Linked DNA regions of Homo sapiens: region 2 is linked to region 1. Evidence: promoter capture Hi-C in 16 types of primary human blood cells and fetal thymus (Javierre and others, 2016). All regions are on one chromosome and are shown on one strand. The core of a region is centred on a gene start or on the middle of the fragment in contact, and the rest is flanking DNA. Distances in the headings are between cores, read along the strand shown. Region 1 holds the start of NSUN6 (NOP2/Sun RNA methyltransferase 6). Region 2 holds the start of ARHGAP21 (Rho GTPase activating protein 21).

What was found. Contacts are between HindIII fragments. The CHiCAGO score rates a contact against its expected background, and 5 or more counts as called.
Region 2: a fragment that was not itself captured here is called in contact with the fragment with the promoter of NSUN6 in region 1 in 4 of 17 cell types (naive CD8 T cells, total CD4 T cells, activated CD4 T cells and 1 more); the score reaches 8.8 in naive CD8 T cells.

What each region holds. Positions count from the first base shown.
Region 1 is chr10:18,648,335-18,655,854 of GRCh38, forward strand. It overlaps NSUN6 (NOP2/Sun RNA methyltransferase 6), which reads right to left and starts at 3,253. Exons shown (of 11, transcript NM_182543.5): 1 at 2,795-3,253; 2 at 156-311. The coding sequence starts at 2,869. RefSeq lists an enhancer at 3,393-3,492. The HindIII fragment of the contact is 3,002 bases long and covers 2,631-5,632 here.
Region 2 is chr10:24,722,307-24,729,826 of GRCh38, forward strand. ARHGAP21 (Rho GTPase activating protein 21) reads right to left here and starts at 1,581. Exons shown (of 26, transcript NM_020824.4): 1 at 1,256-1,581. RefSeq lists silencers at 361-670, 731-1,090, 1,111-1,190, 1,281-1,350, 1,381-1,570 and 1 more and an enhancer at 1,114-2,024. The HindIII fragment of the contact is 2,380 bases long and covers 3,704-6,083 here.

The DNA of each region.
Region 1 (7,520 bases), core at 2,003-4,502:
ACCTAGGATAACTTTGAAGAATTTACCATTCATGGTCCTCAATCTCCTTATCTGTAAAACTGGAAGTGTATTATATCATTCATAGGATTTTAATGGAAAACATGGTAGATTGCAAAAATGTAATTATGTACAAATGACAGAAAATTTCCACAAACCTTCTGAAGTTCATCAAGTAACAGATTTTTCACATGTTGTACTGAGGCTAAATGTGTATTCACTCTGACAGTTGTAAATGATGGAGGATGTGACAGGTGCTTTAACAAAGTTTCAAACTTCCTTTCTGCTTCTTGTTTACCTAAAGCAGTCACAATCTAAAAAGAAGTTCATGTTTAAATTTCCTGAGAATTAAAAACAGTCAGCAGAGCATCCTTATATATTAATTCCATCTAATGAAACATCGCTTAGCAATTGTTCAGCTCCATTCTATTTTGCTGTATTGTTTATATGTTAATAGCAACTAAGGAAATAGTAATACTTCACGGGGTTCTTGGGCTTCAACATGGTAATAAACACCTAAGAAAATGCCTGAAATAAAGGGCTTAGAAAAACATTGCCTAAACTTCAAAGCATTATGAACATTTTCCAAATATTAGTATCTGCTACATTTATTCACATAAATTCAGGAATTCAGTCTATTTATAATGCATTACCATTACAGCATCTCTGTAGAGCTAGCATTATATCCAAGTTAGTTGGACGTTAGCTAATTAGCTAACATCATATCCAAGAGCAAACTGGCTGGTATCCTTTTAAAATACCAATATTTAAAAAATAAGTAATATTGATATAGTCACTGTCATATAAAGATTCCCCTAGGACATCAGCTTTTTAATATGGTGTTATTAAATGTAACAAATATATATTATCCAAAAAAGATGAGTAGCAAAGACACCTGTCAAATATGACGGTATAAAGACTCAACAATATTCCCTTGTAATTAACCGAAGCTTTTCAAGAAACGTATTTCTTTGTCTTCCTATTTGACTAAACCCTGCTTTACAGAATCTTCACAAACCACTTGTTAGCCTACTCATGCACCAGCCTTAAAAGTATTCATACTTTCTCAAGGTTTAGTCTTATCAAAACTGAACATTCAGCCTGGGCAACATGGTGAAACCCCATCACTACAAACAATACAAATATTATTAGCCAGAGTGGTGGCCCCTGTCTGAGGTCCCAGCTACTCGGGAGGCTGAGGTGAGAGGATCACTTGAGTCCCAGAGGTCGAAGCAGCAGTGAGCTGTGATCATGTCACTGCACTCCAACATGGGCAACAGAGGGAGACCCTGTCTCAAAAAAAAAAAAAAAAGGCATAAAACTTAATATTCCTTTCCCTTCAGTACTTTTCACAAAGGCATAGCTTTTCATTTTGTAAAACCATACCACTGATGAGACTCGAGGCAGAGGCAGTGTCAAAGAAAGACGTTTGGATCTTCTTTATAAAACGACGTTCTCCATTTTAAAATCTGCTGAAAAAATTGTGGTATGCCCCTACTTCTCCTAATATGTGCCTTATATTTTAAGTCCCTTGAAATCAACAGAATATATTTTCTCTTTCCATACAGTCTAGTACCTCAAGCTAATCTTTGGAAATGAAACGTAGAAATCAAATCTAAAAGGCATGGCTTCAATAACATATTCAAAAATGAGTAACATTTAAGTGGTGTTACTCTAACTAAGAAAACTAAAGATTTCAAAAAAAACAAAGTTGCTTAGAGGCAACATGGTAAAGTGGTAGAGAGGACAGGCTTTGCAATAAAAGACAATCAACATTTACTGAGGACTTCTGTGGCAGGCACTGCCAATTGCAAACAAAATTAACATTTTTTGAAGACTTACATGCCAAAACAATGCAAGTTGTTTTCATTTACGTTTAATATCCTAAAACAACCTGGTAAAATATTTTTAACTTGACTAAAAAATTAAAGATTTGAAAAAAAACAAAGTTGCTTAGAGGCAGCATGGTAAAATGGAATAGACAACAGGCTTTGCAATCAAAGATAATCAACATTTACTGAGGACTTTAGCAAATAAAATTAACATTTTTTGAGGACTTACATGCCAAAACAATGCTAGTTGTATTCACTTACGTTTAATATCCTAAAACAACCTGGCAAGATATTTTTAACCATTCTCAATTTTTCACAGAAGAGAAAAATCTAGGTTAAGCCACGTAATTTACAAAGCACTAGAATGCAAATCATGTGCCTGAGATTCAAAAGCTGTACCTTTGTTCATTACACCTGAACTCTTTCCCTCCAGATTTCAATAGTTACTTGATAGCTGTGTCAACTTGGATCAGTTACACAATTCCTTGAGCAGTTTTCTGCTCAAGTCTATTAAAAGAGGAAAAACCTCTAAGAAAAAAAAGATTGTGAAGATTAAAGATGCAAATCTCCTAGCACAACTGCTGGCATTTAAGAGGCACTCAACAAATTACAGAAACCTTTTCACCTGAGTGCCAGAGCCAGCGCTCTTTTAAAATTCGATTCGAGTTCTTGAAGACAGGGACCTTTTCTTGTTCATCCTTGTAACCCTTTGTGCCATGCCTGACAGGCACATGCCTTTTTTCCCTTCTTTTCCACTCCTAAATGTTAAAACATATACCTTATTCACTTCGTATCTCAGTAAGCTTTAATACCTGTAGAAACATATTGGTATTTTTACACTTGATAGACAAGTAGTAAGGAACGACGGCTGTCAAGATTTCCCTTTATACTTATTTCTATTTCTCTCGAGTGTGCGAATATTTGAGTTTTTGCAAAATATCAACTAACATCTTTACTTGACCTACCTCCTTATTCATAAAGCCTTCCTTAAGATAGTTTTCAACCTCAGGTCTCAAAGATATCTTAGGGAAAATAGACATTTTTCCTGTTGTTTAGTTCTCCACCAAGAGAAATGCTGGAAAACGGTGTTTTGTTTTTTTTTTTCTTTCCGAATTAATAGTGACGAGTGTCTTGACACCAGATGCTGAGGAAAATCTTGCCGATCACGCTGAGTTAATTTCGGAAATGCAGAGGTACACGCTTTCTCAAGCCTAGCCGATTAGAAGGGGCTGCCGGGCTTCCACCACACCTCATCGAGGCAATGTTTTCTGGTAGAGATGCTCATGGAAATCACTGAGCCAATGCCACTCACGTTGCAAAGAACCAAAAAAAGAAAAAAATGCTTAGTAACTGAATCCGTGGTGAAACGGACGCAGATCAGTAAGCCAGGCTGACAGCAGCTCGGTCCCTTTATCTTTTCTATCAATTTCCAAACACGCGCCCCCTATTTCTCGGCGGAAAGTCGCTTCCGGCTTACGTCACGTCCGGCGCCTGCGGCCCACCCCTCCCTTTCCGGTCCCCCAATCCACAGCCGCAAGTTTCCCCAACACTGCGTTACGCTACGCCACGCCCCCGGAGGTTCCTAACCCTGCGTGAGGCTCTTTCACCTGCCTCAGGTTAAGTAGGCAGACCCCGCGGGCGGGATGGTCAAAGATATTTAGTTCCCGGTACCGGAGGGCTAGGTGCCAGGGGCAATGGGGAAACAGCCAAATGGCGTGGGTTGAGTGGAAGATGTTGCTGGACTGAAAAAAGGCACAGCCCAGTTGCTGTCCTGCCAGATGTCCTCCAGTTAGAGGATGAGGCCAGAATTTGGGCGCATCAGCCACCGTTTGATTTCATGACATGATTTTACCTCTCTCAGGCATACAGATCTGACTTCAGTTGTGAAGTTCATAGGGTTCATATTTTTGAAAGTTGGGCTAATGGTCTGTTAATATCCAATGCTCAGGTAAAACTTAAAACCCACAGACAGTGTTTACAGTTAGTTATAAGGCTAACTGCTACTTGTATCATAGTTGACATATTCTTTAGAGTTTGGAAGACCCTCGCCATTATTTTTTTTTCTTTTTTTTCATCATAAGCAGACAAGGATATAGATTCAAAGAACGAGGATATCTAACCAAACTCACTGAGTCATTTTATAACTGTACAGGAAAGTCAAAATAATTCTATCACCTTGACATATGTTTTTTGCAGCACACCATGGTAATTTACACATAAGTATAGGAAAGGGTTTTTTATTGTTTTTTTCTCTTTAATTTTCACACCGAATTATACACACAGACACACACACATAGAACAGGTACTTTCCATGACACACCAACTCTTTACCAGAAAGAGTAGAAAATAATGAATGACCATTATACCACACAACAACCTGCAAGTTGTTTATCATTTTCTCTGCTCTTTTTTTTTTTTTTTTTTTGAGTCTCTGTCGCCCAGACTGGAGTGGAATGGTGGGATCTCGACTCACTGCAACCTCCACCTCCTGGTTCAAGAGATTCTCCTGCCTTGGCCTCCCGAGTAGCTAAAATTACAGGCATGTGCCACCAGGCCCAGCTAATCTTTGTAATTTTAATAGAGACGGGGTTTCACCATGCTGGCCAGGCTGGTCTCAAACTCCTGACTTCAACTGATCTGACTCTCTAGCCTCCCAAAGTGCTGGGATTACAGGCGTGAGCCACCACGCCCAGCCCATTTTCTCTGTTTTAAAGAGTAAATCAAGGTTCCTAGGGTTGAAACAACTCTCCATGTTCTCACAAATAAAAAGCCAGGATAAAGACTAGTAATTTGGCTTCTAGAGCCAATACCTTGTCCTTGACCATAGCATATTTCTTCAATAAATCCATGAGATTCTTTCATGGCTAAAACATCTGAAAGTGATAAATGTCTAAATCAGACATTTCCAAAGGAATTTCTGTAGCCTGAATTTCATGGTGACCATAGCACCACTGATGGCTAGAATCTGTATTTTAGCGATAAAGGAGGAGAAACAAGTTGAACTACATTTTAAACTCCACAAGGATAGAGACTTTATCACACCACTATGTACCCAAGCCTAATCCATAATGGGCACTCAAATACTTACTGAATGACTAAATGAAAAGATGGATGAACATCTCTATAAACTATGGAAAGAAAATGCTGATAAAGCATTTGCCAGAAATTACTTCACTAGTGCCACACACGGACAGAATTGAGGACATTTAGACTTTTTTGTTTGTTTGAGATGGAGTCTCATTCTGTCGCTCAGGCTGGAGTGCAGTGGTGCTATCTCAGCTCACTGCAACCTCTGCCTCCCAGGTTCAAGTGATTCTCCTGCCTCAGCCTCCCCAGTAGCTGGGATCATAGGTGCCCACCACCACGCCCGGCTAATTTTTGTATTTTTAGTAGAGATGGGGTTTCACCATGTTGCTCAGGCTGGTCTCGAACTCCTCAGCTCAAAGTGATCCACCCACTTCAGCCTCCCAAAGTGCTGGGATTACAGGCGTGAGCCACCACACCCAGCCATTTAGACTATTCTTGACTAGATGTTATAGTAATGACAGTTAATGTTGACGAAGATATCTCTTGGGATTCTAAGGCTGGATCCAAGAAAAGCATATTACAAAACAAGAGGTTGGCATAGTAGATATGTGCTATGTAAGCAAAGGAAAACTACTCTATGAATACACCCATATAAGATTTATTTAGGCTACAAGTTCTTCATATGGGCGACATGGCTCCCCAGGGTGTGGGGAACTCAGGGAGGACTGAAACAATTTTTGATACAATCTCACTCTTTTTAGTTTGTGGAACTCCAAAGCTTAACCTTACCAAAACAATCACTCCTGAGCATTTAATTTCATGGTAAGGGTATGGGAGAATTAGCAGGAAAAAATGTCTAGAAAGGCTCTTTAGGGGGATGATAATTTTAAAAGGTTGATAAAACACTGATTTAGGTGATCACTGCCCTCGAGTCTCACTCTGTCGCCCAGGCTGGAGTGCAATGGCATGATCTCGGCTCACTGCAACCTCCGCTTCCTGGGTTCAAGCGATTCTCCTGCCTCAGCCTCCTGAGTAGCTGGTATTACAGGTGCCTGCCACCATGCCCAGCTAGACAGTTAACTAATTTCTATCTAGTCCTCCCTTTTTCTGTTCTTCCAGGTTGCCTTTTTATTTCTTCTATGACAGACATGCCTCTTTTACTTGCCAAAATGTTATTTCAGACTGATCTTGGAAGAAAGGTCTTAATTCTGCCTCTGGCTATCTCCATTCAAGGGAACTTCTTTCCTTCTTAATTTCAAACCTGAATGGTTCTATGAAAATAACATGACACCTATAGTCACCCATTCACCCATAAATCCAATCCTGTATCAGTACAGCAGCTCCAGTCTAAGCTCAAATTTATTTGGCATTTGAGACACAATAAATTAGGGACTATAGTATCTGGAAAGTGGCCTGGCGCAGTGGCTCATGCCTGTAATCCCAACACTTTGGGAGGCTGAGGCGGGTGGATCACCAAGTCAGGAGTCCAAGACCAGCCTGATCAATATGTAAAACCCCATCTGTACTAAAAATGCAAAAATTAGCCTGGCGTGATGGCACGTGCCTGTAGTCCCAGCTACTTGGGAGGGTGAGGCAGGAGAAACGCTTGAACCAGGGAGGCAGAGGTTGCAGTGAGCCAAGATTGTGGCACTGCACTCCAGCCTGGGCAAGACTCTGTCTCAAAAAATAAAAAAATAAATAAAATTAAAAAGTCTGGAAAGTAAAGGGAAGAATGAATACAATTTAGTTAAGAATACTGCCAGGATTAAACAAACAAAAAATCAATCTTGGATTGGTTCATCTTTATTTCTAGAAATAATACTATATACCTTACCGAGAACTTCCCATTTTTCTTGCCACGCTTATGGAACATTGGAAATTAGCACTATAATTTGCTTTGGGGAACACTTCTCTGAAAATCCAGCAGTCCAACTGTTGCCAGACTTAAATCCCTCGCTGCTTTATCTTGCTCGTATCCTTCCCACCTAAGAAAGGAACAAACAACATAGATTCTTACAAAGAAAATGGTATTAACATATGACTGAAGTTTAGCAGGGTTCCTGGGCAATCTATATCTTTGACACCTCTGGTGTCAAGCTACTAGGGTGCAGATTCCAGTTCTTGCAACCTCAGTCAAGTATTAAAGTTCTTTTCACTTCAGTTTCTTCATCTGTGAAATACAGATAATAGCTCCTGCTTCACAATTTTACTATAAACCAAACAAATTAGGTAGAGTGCTTTAAATGGTACTAGAACAAAGTCCTCTGTAAATGTTACATAGTATTAATATACATGTACTGAAGGAATGGCTATAGGATAGTGAAACGTCATTTGTGAGGAAAGAACTAAAGTGACCTAAATTCTGACATGTCAAGAGAGTCAACTTTTCTATCTAAGGGAGGAGTGAAGATTTCAGGTGTTTAGGAAATGTAAGAGGCTCCACCCGAAGGAATGGGACTGTAGTAAAGAGGGGCAAAGCTGTTTCCAGAGAAGACAGGACCAGAAGCTTCAAGAAATTGAGTCAGCTTCAAAAGCCAAAAACCTACTATAAATGGGTAATTTATAAGCCACCATGACTGCCACACTGAGCAGCCGAGCCCCTAAAGGACTACATGTGTTGATGATACAAGCTTTGAAGTACCTGTTGGAAGGAGCATTTATCAA
Region 2 (7,520 bases), core at 3,644-6,143, 6.1 Mb after region 1:
GAACTTTCTCCAGGCGCCTATCACTGTCTTGCCCACATGTCCACACCAAGTTCGCGTTTCCTCCCGAGCAAAACAAACAAAAAAAAATTTTAACGTAAACAAACAAAAAGCCTATAAATTCGAGGGGGTGTTTAAAAAAGAGAAATCTCGAAACTGCCCAGCGGTTGCGTCAAACACACCTGGCTGTTATGCAGCCTTCAAGAAAAAATGTTCCCCATTCAAGTGCATTTTAATTCATGTCTTTCCTGGGTAGAGCAGAGGGCTGTGCATGTTGTTTTCTGCATCACCCAGACAGGGACACTTCGGTGAAGTTTTCTCCCCCACGAGGCTGAAATGGGATCACACTTTCCAAGCCCCCTCTTCGCTCCCCTCCGCCCCCCAAAAACGCAAGCACAAAGCCAGCCTGGCTGGGGCCGGCGTGGGCTCGGCGGCGTCTCCGGGTGACTCGGGCGCCGCCCCTCCGCCCCTCCGCCCCGGCCGGCGTCCCCGAGGAGGCGGCTGTTTTCCTTGGCCCGCGGCGGGGCTGGGTGGGGACGGCCGGGGAGGCGTGCGCGGCCGCGGGTGGGACGCCGGCGCCGCTCCCGCTCCAGGGCATGATTCTGGAGCTACACCCGAGCAACTCTGAAGTCGCGGCTTTTCCCCCAACTACCACTCGACACGGCTTCCCTTCCCCTGTGGCCACCTAGGGGGAAAAAACGAGAAAAAGCAAACCACCACCCACCTCCCCACGATTCCCCCGCCCCTTCCTGAGGCGGGTCGGGGACCTCGAGCTCCCGAGGAGAGCGGCCCCAATATGGACTTTCTCAAAGGTGCTAGGAGCCCCGGGGCGAGACAAAACCGGGGGCCTTACCCTTCCCGCCCGCTCGGGCCCGGCGGCCGAAGCGCGGCGGCGAGCTGAAGCGGAGACGCTGGCCGGGCGCCGGGCCCGGCCGGGACGCGCTAGGCCGCAGGCTCGGTTAATATTCATGAGCGGCCCCAGGCGCCCCTCCTCCAAGGCTGGCCGGCCGGACCCCAGCGCCCACCGCCGGCCTTTGTGCCCTTCCCTCCGCCCCGCCGCCCGCCCTTGCTCCGCACACGCGGGCGCGGCCCCTCCGCCCCCGCCGGGCGCCCGCCGCGGGCTCCCTCCGGCCCCGAGCCAGCGCCCGGCCGGGTGGCCTGTGGCGGGAAGGGAGAGAGCCCGCGGCAAGCCGGGCACTCCACGGCCCGCGAGCGCAGCGCCCTCTCGGCTGAGACGGAAAAGAAACCAGACACGCACCAGAGGAAGCGGGACGAGTGGATCCGCACGGGGCTGGCCGGCTCCGGGACAGCGCGCCCCGCCCGCCCGCCCGGCGTGAGCCGGACCCCGCAGCCGGACGATCCCGCGCTGCCCGCCGCCGCCGCCGCCGCCGCCGCCGCGCTCCGAGGCCGCCGCCCCCGGCCGGCCGCTCCCAGGCACCGCCGCGACCTGCCCCGGCCGGCCCCGGGCTCTCGGCCGCCGCAGGAGGGCGTGGGGCGGGGCGGCGGCCGCCGGACTCTCCCCTCGCCTCGCCGGGCCGGGCCGGGGCCCAGCTCCGGCGCCCGCGAACGCCAAGTGACAGAAGCGCCTCGCTCCGTGGCCGCGCGGAGCTGTTTCCCGGGGGCGGATTTCTCGCTTCTTCCTCCCTGGATCCACCTCCTCCCACTCCACCTCCTTCCCCTCCCCTCCCCAGGGGAGGCTCTGGGGCTGAATATTTTCTGTCTTGAATAACACGGGACCGGGGAACCGACGCTGGAGAAGGGGGATTAGCCGGAGGCCGGAGCGGGGTGCTCGCCTGCCCCCTCCCCGTGGGTCGCGGGACCTACAAGCCCTCGCCCCCCAGCACCCCAAAACCAGGCACACAACGCTCCCCGCCCCTGCAGTCTCCCAAGCGCTGAACGGCAGCGTCCAGGGATGGGCTTGCTCCCGGGAAAGGAGACCTGGTGGTAGACGTCTGGGGTGGAGAGGGGGACAAGCCTATAACAGCGACATCTGCAGACTCCAGGGATCAAAGGTCCTAGATTGGGGGACAGGGCTTGGCAAATTGTGCCCCCACCCCTTTTTTGCAGCGGGAAGGCAATGAAGCTGCGACGAGACGTGGGACTTCCAGATAAGGGAGTGTCCCCTCACGCCTCACAGCAAAAATCTCTTCCTGTGGTGGGAAGGGGGAAGTTAGCCAAGCGTTGCTCATTCAGTTCTTTCCCTTTTATAAATTCTGCAGAGCGGCTGAGCGAATTTGGCGCGGCTAGCGGAACTGTGGAGAGGCGGCTGCGCTTCTCTGTCCGCCACACTCCAGGTCACAGCGGCTCCGGAGCCGCGGCACAACCGCCACCCTCCCCACCCAATTCCCGGGCCTTGTCACAGACCCCGGCAGCTCGCTCCGCCCCGCCGTGCCTCACAACATCTCCCGCTGCAAATTACCCAATCGGGAGACGCGACGAGAGAACGCGAACCAATCAGGGGCTGGTAAATCAGGCTTCCCTCCGCCCTCTTCCCCGCCCCCGGGTGAAGGCCACCGCCCCCTCGGCCTCTCCTTCCCACCCCGCCCCGCTCCGGGGAGGTGGCTCCCCGGCTCCGAGCCTCGCGGGGCTGGAGGGGGAGTTGCTCGCAGTCAGAGGCAGCGTTTGTCACCTTGTCACCCTCATCCTCGCCCCCTCCCATACACACTCCCCTCCCCTTCTCGGTGCTCCTGCTGGTGCTGTTGAGGGTCATTTTTATCCTCACTGCGGCCGGGGACTGCCAGCTATTGTGTCTGATCAGCTGCCACCGCTGTCCAGAGGGAAAAAAAGAAGAACAAAACCTAGAAACTGTGGAGTCCTCTTACCTTTTCCTTCTTTCTTTCTACACTCTCCCCTGTAGACTTAGAAACATCCCTTCTCCTTCCCCGCCCGCCCACCACCTGAGGTCCTGTTTCTTTATGGGGGACAGGGGAGCGGGGACAAAAAACACTCCCTGCAGCTGGAGTACCTGCGCCTTAGTTTTTACATCTTCCTTAAAGTGGAAGGTGCCAAACCAAATCTACAACTAAATCCTCCGCTTCAATTCGAGGGAAGACGTTGACGAGATCATTTTTATATGGCCATGAAATTTGCGTGTTCTTGACAGCCTGTCACCAAACAAGTCAGCTAATAATCAAGAAAAGAAAAATAGAATAAAATACAAGGACTGTATTTCAGTCAGATGGTAATTTACTAAATAGCCCAGTGGCTGTAGCAGTATCCAGTGCTAGATACAATTGAGTAAATTAACAAGAAGTGAATAGAAATTCAGGGTTCAAGTAGCTCACCGCTTGTGGGCTTATAGAATATGTCCAGAAAGGAAAAACAACTTACAGCACAAAACAACTCCTTGCACATGCAAATGTGCATGCATGGCATGAACGGCGTACCTAACAGCTGAGGACTTTTGGGTTAAAATTTTTGCACTAGAAATTTTTTAAATGTTGATTGTGAAATTTTCAGTTTGATAAAGGAGAGTAAAATGTGGGCCATGAAAGGAGAAGGAAAAGGAAGGAAAACACATTCTAGGAATTATGGAAAAATAACATAACCTAGAGAGGCAATATTTCTATAAGAGGTAATAAGATGTAAGGATCAAGATTACAATCCAACTCCATCATTTACCACGTAACTTAGGGAAAATTATGACTTATGTGTCTAAGTACTAGAGCTATCAAATTCAATACCTCCTGCTAGGTACTCCTCTAAAAGCTTTACACACAACATATTGAGATAGGTGGGTGGTGAAGCAAGGATTCAAGCCCAGGGGATCTGGCTCCAGAGTCCATTCTTTTATTCACAACACTATACTAGGCTGGGCCCAGTGGCTTATGCCTGTAATCCCAGCACTTTGGGAGGCTGAGGTGGGAGGATCGCTTGAGTCCAGGAGTTTGAGACCAGCGTGGACAACATAGGGAGACCCGTCTGTACAAACAAAAAGTTAGCTGGGCGTGGTGGCATGTGCCTGTAGTCCCAGCTACAAAGGAGGCTGTGAGGCAGGAGGATCGCTTGAGCCCAGCAGTTCAAGGCTGCAGTGAGCCCTGTCCAAGTGTGGCACTCTAGCTAGGGCAACAGAGCCAGACTGTGTCTCAAAAAATAATAAATAAATAAATAAATAAATAAATCACTGTACTACCTCTTAATATGGGTTTTTAATAATAACAGCTAACACTTAACTTACTATGTGTGAATTATTGTGGTCTTTGAGTGCCAATTTAACTCTACTCCTGGGACAAATATAATTGTGATGTTCTAAAATTTGGGAATGTTTTTAAGAACTGTTATGATAAGTTACTATCTTAGGTATCTTAAGTGTATTAGGCTATCTGTACGGAGAAGTGCAAAGGCACACAGCTAAGATTTGAAAAACCTGTGTCCTGGGCTTCTACAGGACCTCTGAGTTGTAACAGCATCCTCCCTGTCTTGCTGGACTGTTAAAGAGAATCAAATGAGATAATAGATGTGAAGAAATTTTAAGGCCAGGTGCGGTGGCTTATGCCTGTAATCTCAGCACTTTGGCAGGCCCAGGCAGGAGGACCACTTGAGCCCATGAGTTCAACAAGCCTGGGCAACATAACGGGGCCCTATATCTATAAAAAAATTTTTTTTTAATTAGCCAGGTGTGGTGGCCAATGCCTGTGGTCCCAGCTACTTGGAAAGCTAAGGTGTGAGGATCGCTTGAGCCCAGGAGGTCAAAGCTGCAGTGAGTCTTGATCACACCAGCGCACTCCAGCCTGGGCAACAGAAGACACTTTTAAAACGTAAAAAACATTATTTCAATCAAAATATTATGGGCTGGGCATGATGGCTCATGTCTGTAATCCCAGCACTTTGGGAGGCCAAGGCGGGCGGATCACTTAAGGCCGGGAGTTCAAGACTAACCTGGGCAACATGGTGAAACCCCTTCTCTACTGAAAATACAAAAATTAGCCTGGCGTGGTGGCACGTGCCTGTAATCCCAGCTGCTTGAGAGGCTGAGGCATGAGAATCCCTTGAGCCCGGGAGGAAGAGGTTGGAGTGAGCCGAGATTGCGCCACTGCACTCCAGCCTGGGTGACAGAGCGAGACTCCATCTCAAAAAATAAAATATTACTATAAAGCAGAAGTTTGTACTATTTCCCCAACAGGAACCCTACTGTTTATAACATTTTATTGATACTGTTTAGGAATATATGAACCCAGTTAAAAATTAGGTCTATTCCTTTCTGAAGCCATGAACAAGAATATTTTAATATCAGCTCTCATTTGGATGCTTTTTTGTGTTTGTTTGTTTTGTTCGTTTTTGTTTTTGAGATGAGGTCCACTCTGTCACCAGGCTGGAGTGCAATGGCACAGTCTCGGCTGACTGCAACCTCTGCCTCCTGGGCTCAAGGGATTCTGGTGTCTCAGCTTCCTGAGTAGCTGGAACTACAGGCACATGCCACCACACCCGGGTAATTTTTCTTTCTTCCCCGCCCCCACCCCGTAGAGACAGGGTTTCACCACGTTACCCAGACTGGTCTTGAACAAATGATGCCTCAGCCTCCCAAAGTTCAGGGTTTACAGGCGTGAGCCACCGCGCTTGGTCATCATTTGGATGCCTTCTGACCAGACCAAAAAGTGAGTGTGGCCCCCCACGCATCTGGAAAGAGGAAGCCTGCAGCTGGTTTTTCTCCATTCCAAAGGCTAATTGGCGTAATTGGTGGAGGGTGCAAGCCCTTGGAATTCTCTTTAGCTGCCCATCGTGGACATCTCACTTGTAAACACCTCCACCAGAGGGAGGGCAAGGGAAAGGAAAGGGGGCCAAACTTCAGTCACGCGGCTACGTGTTAGTTTCAGTGAGAGATTTGGTGAAACAATAGGTTTTGGGGCCATTGTAACTGAAAGGAGATTGAAACTAACTGGTTGCTATCTTGATAGTTTTCTTTATCCTCAAATATCATGGATAAGCAAGAGCTAACAGTAATTCTAGCTTTGTTTGCTTTGAAAGGCTATTTTCCTCCTTAGAGTATAGCTAATAAATGTGTGGGTTTCCTATAATCAAACTTCTTGGAGTATCCTTTGAAATAGCCTCTGAAATTACTATAGCTATATTAATAAAAACTACAAGAAAGCTTTATACACTAAATCTAGGCAAGACATTTATGAAGATGAGAACTGTATCCTTAAAAGGTAAGTGTTGGCTTTGCTAATGACATAATATTGTTTTGGTGAACCAATATCAAGGGAAAAAATGTCAAAGCCAAAAATAGAGGCAAAGTATCCCAGCCCCTGGTGTGGAAGGCCATTCTATGATAATCTATGAATGATTTCTACTCTGAATATGTTAACAGAAGCTGGCACATCTGAGAAGCACAAGTGTTTGCTAGTGAATCCACAAATGAAATTTGCAATTTGGGTTGAAGCCTTTGCAAAACTACGTTAAGACCAATAGCCCTCAGAAGAGTAAGGGGTTTTGTTTTGTTTATTTCTTATTCACACATTACCAAAAAGACACATTACATGCTAATATTACTTTGAAAGAGCAAAAGACTTTTTTTTTTTTTTTGAGACGGAGTCTCACTTTGTCATCCAGGCTGGAGTGCAGTGGTGTGATCTTGGCTCACTGCAACCTCTGCCTCCTGGGTTCAAGGGATTCTCGTGCCTTAGCCTCCCCAGTAGCTGGGACGACAGGCATGCACCACCACACCCAGCTAATTTTTGTATTTTTTAGTAGAGACAGAATTTTACCATGTTGGCCAGGCTGGTCTCGAACTCCTGACCTCAGGTGATCCACCCACCCCGCCCTCCCAAAGTGCTGGGATTACAGGCGTGAGCCACCATGCCTGGACAAAAAAAGCAAAAGATTTTCATGTTGAACTGAATAGCTACAGAAATCCCACCACACTTGCAAGGCATTTAACTATTGTAATTGAGAGAAGGGAATGATTCTCCACAATCAGCAATTTCTAGGACTCTTCCTTCATCTCTTTTAAACAAATAATGTAAATGATTTACTAATTTATTGTTCTGCATTTGCTAAATATGTATCTTATTATTTCTCTCCACATGATTACTATCTTTGATGATTAATTTCTAGAAGGCAATGACATTATTTAATTCATTATATACAATGCCTAGTAAAGTGCCACACACAATAAATATTCTTGAATAATTTATCTGCCCTCAGTTTATTGTCATCTTTTCCTCCTCTGGACTAGAATACTGGTGTTTATTTTTGGGTTTGTTTGTTTGTTTGTTTGTTGCTGTTACTTGATTATAAACAATCTTCTTTTGTTACACGGATATATTGTGGGAAAAAAATAATAAATCTTATTTAGCTAAATATTATCTCCTTTTTTAATCTGGATTATAAACTTCTCTAGAGGAGATTCCTGGAGCTTTTACTACTTTCACATCCCCACAATATCTACCACATCTTTTACACATAGAAATTACTACAGAATTATTCAAGAAATAAAAGATGGTTATGTCACTATTATTGATAAATATTTATACCTCAAGAAATTCCTGGCTGTACAGGTCCAATAACAGTACAGGTCACAGGAA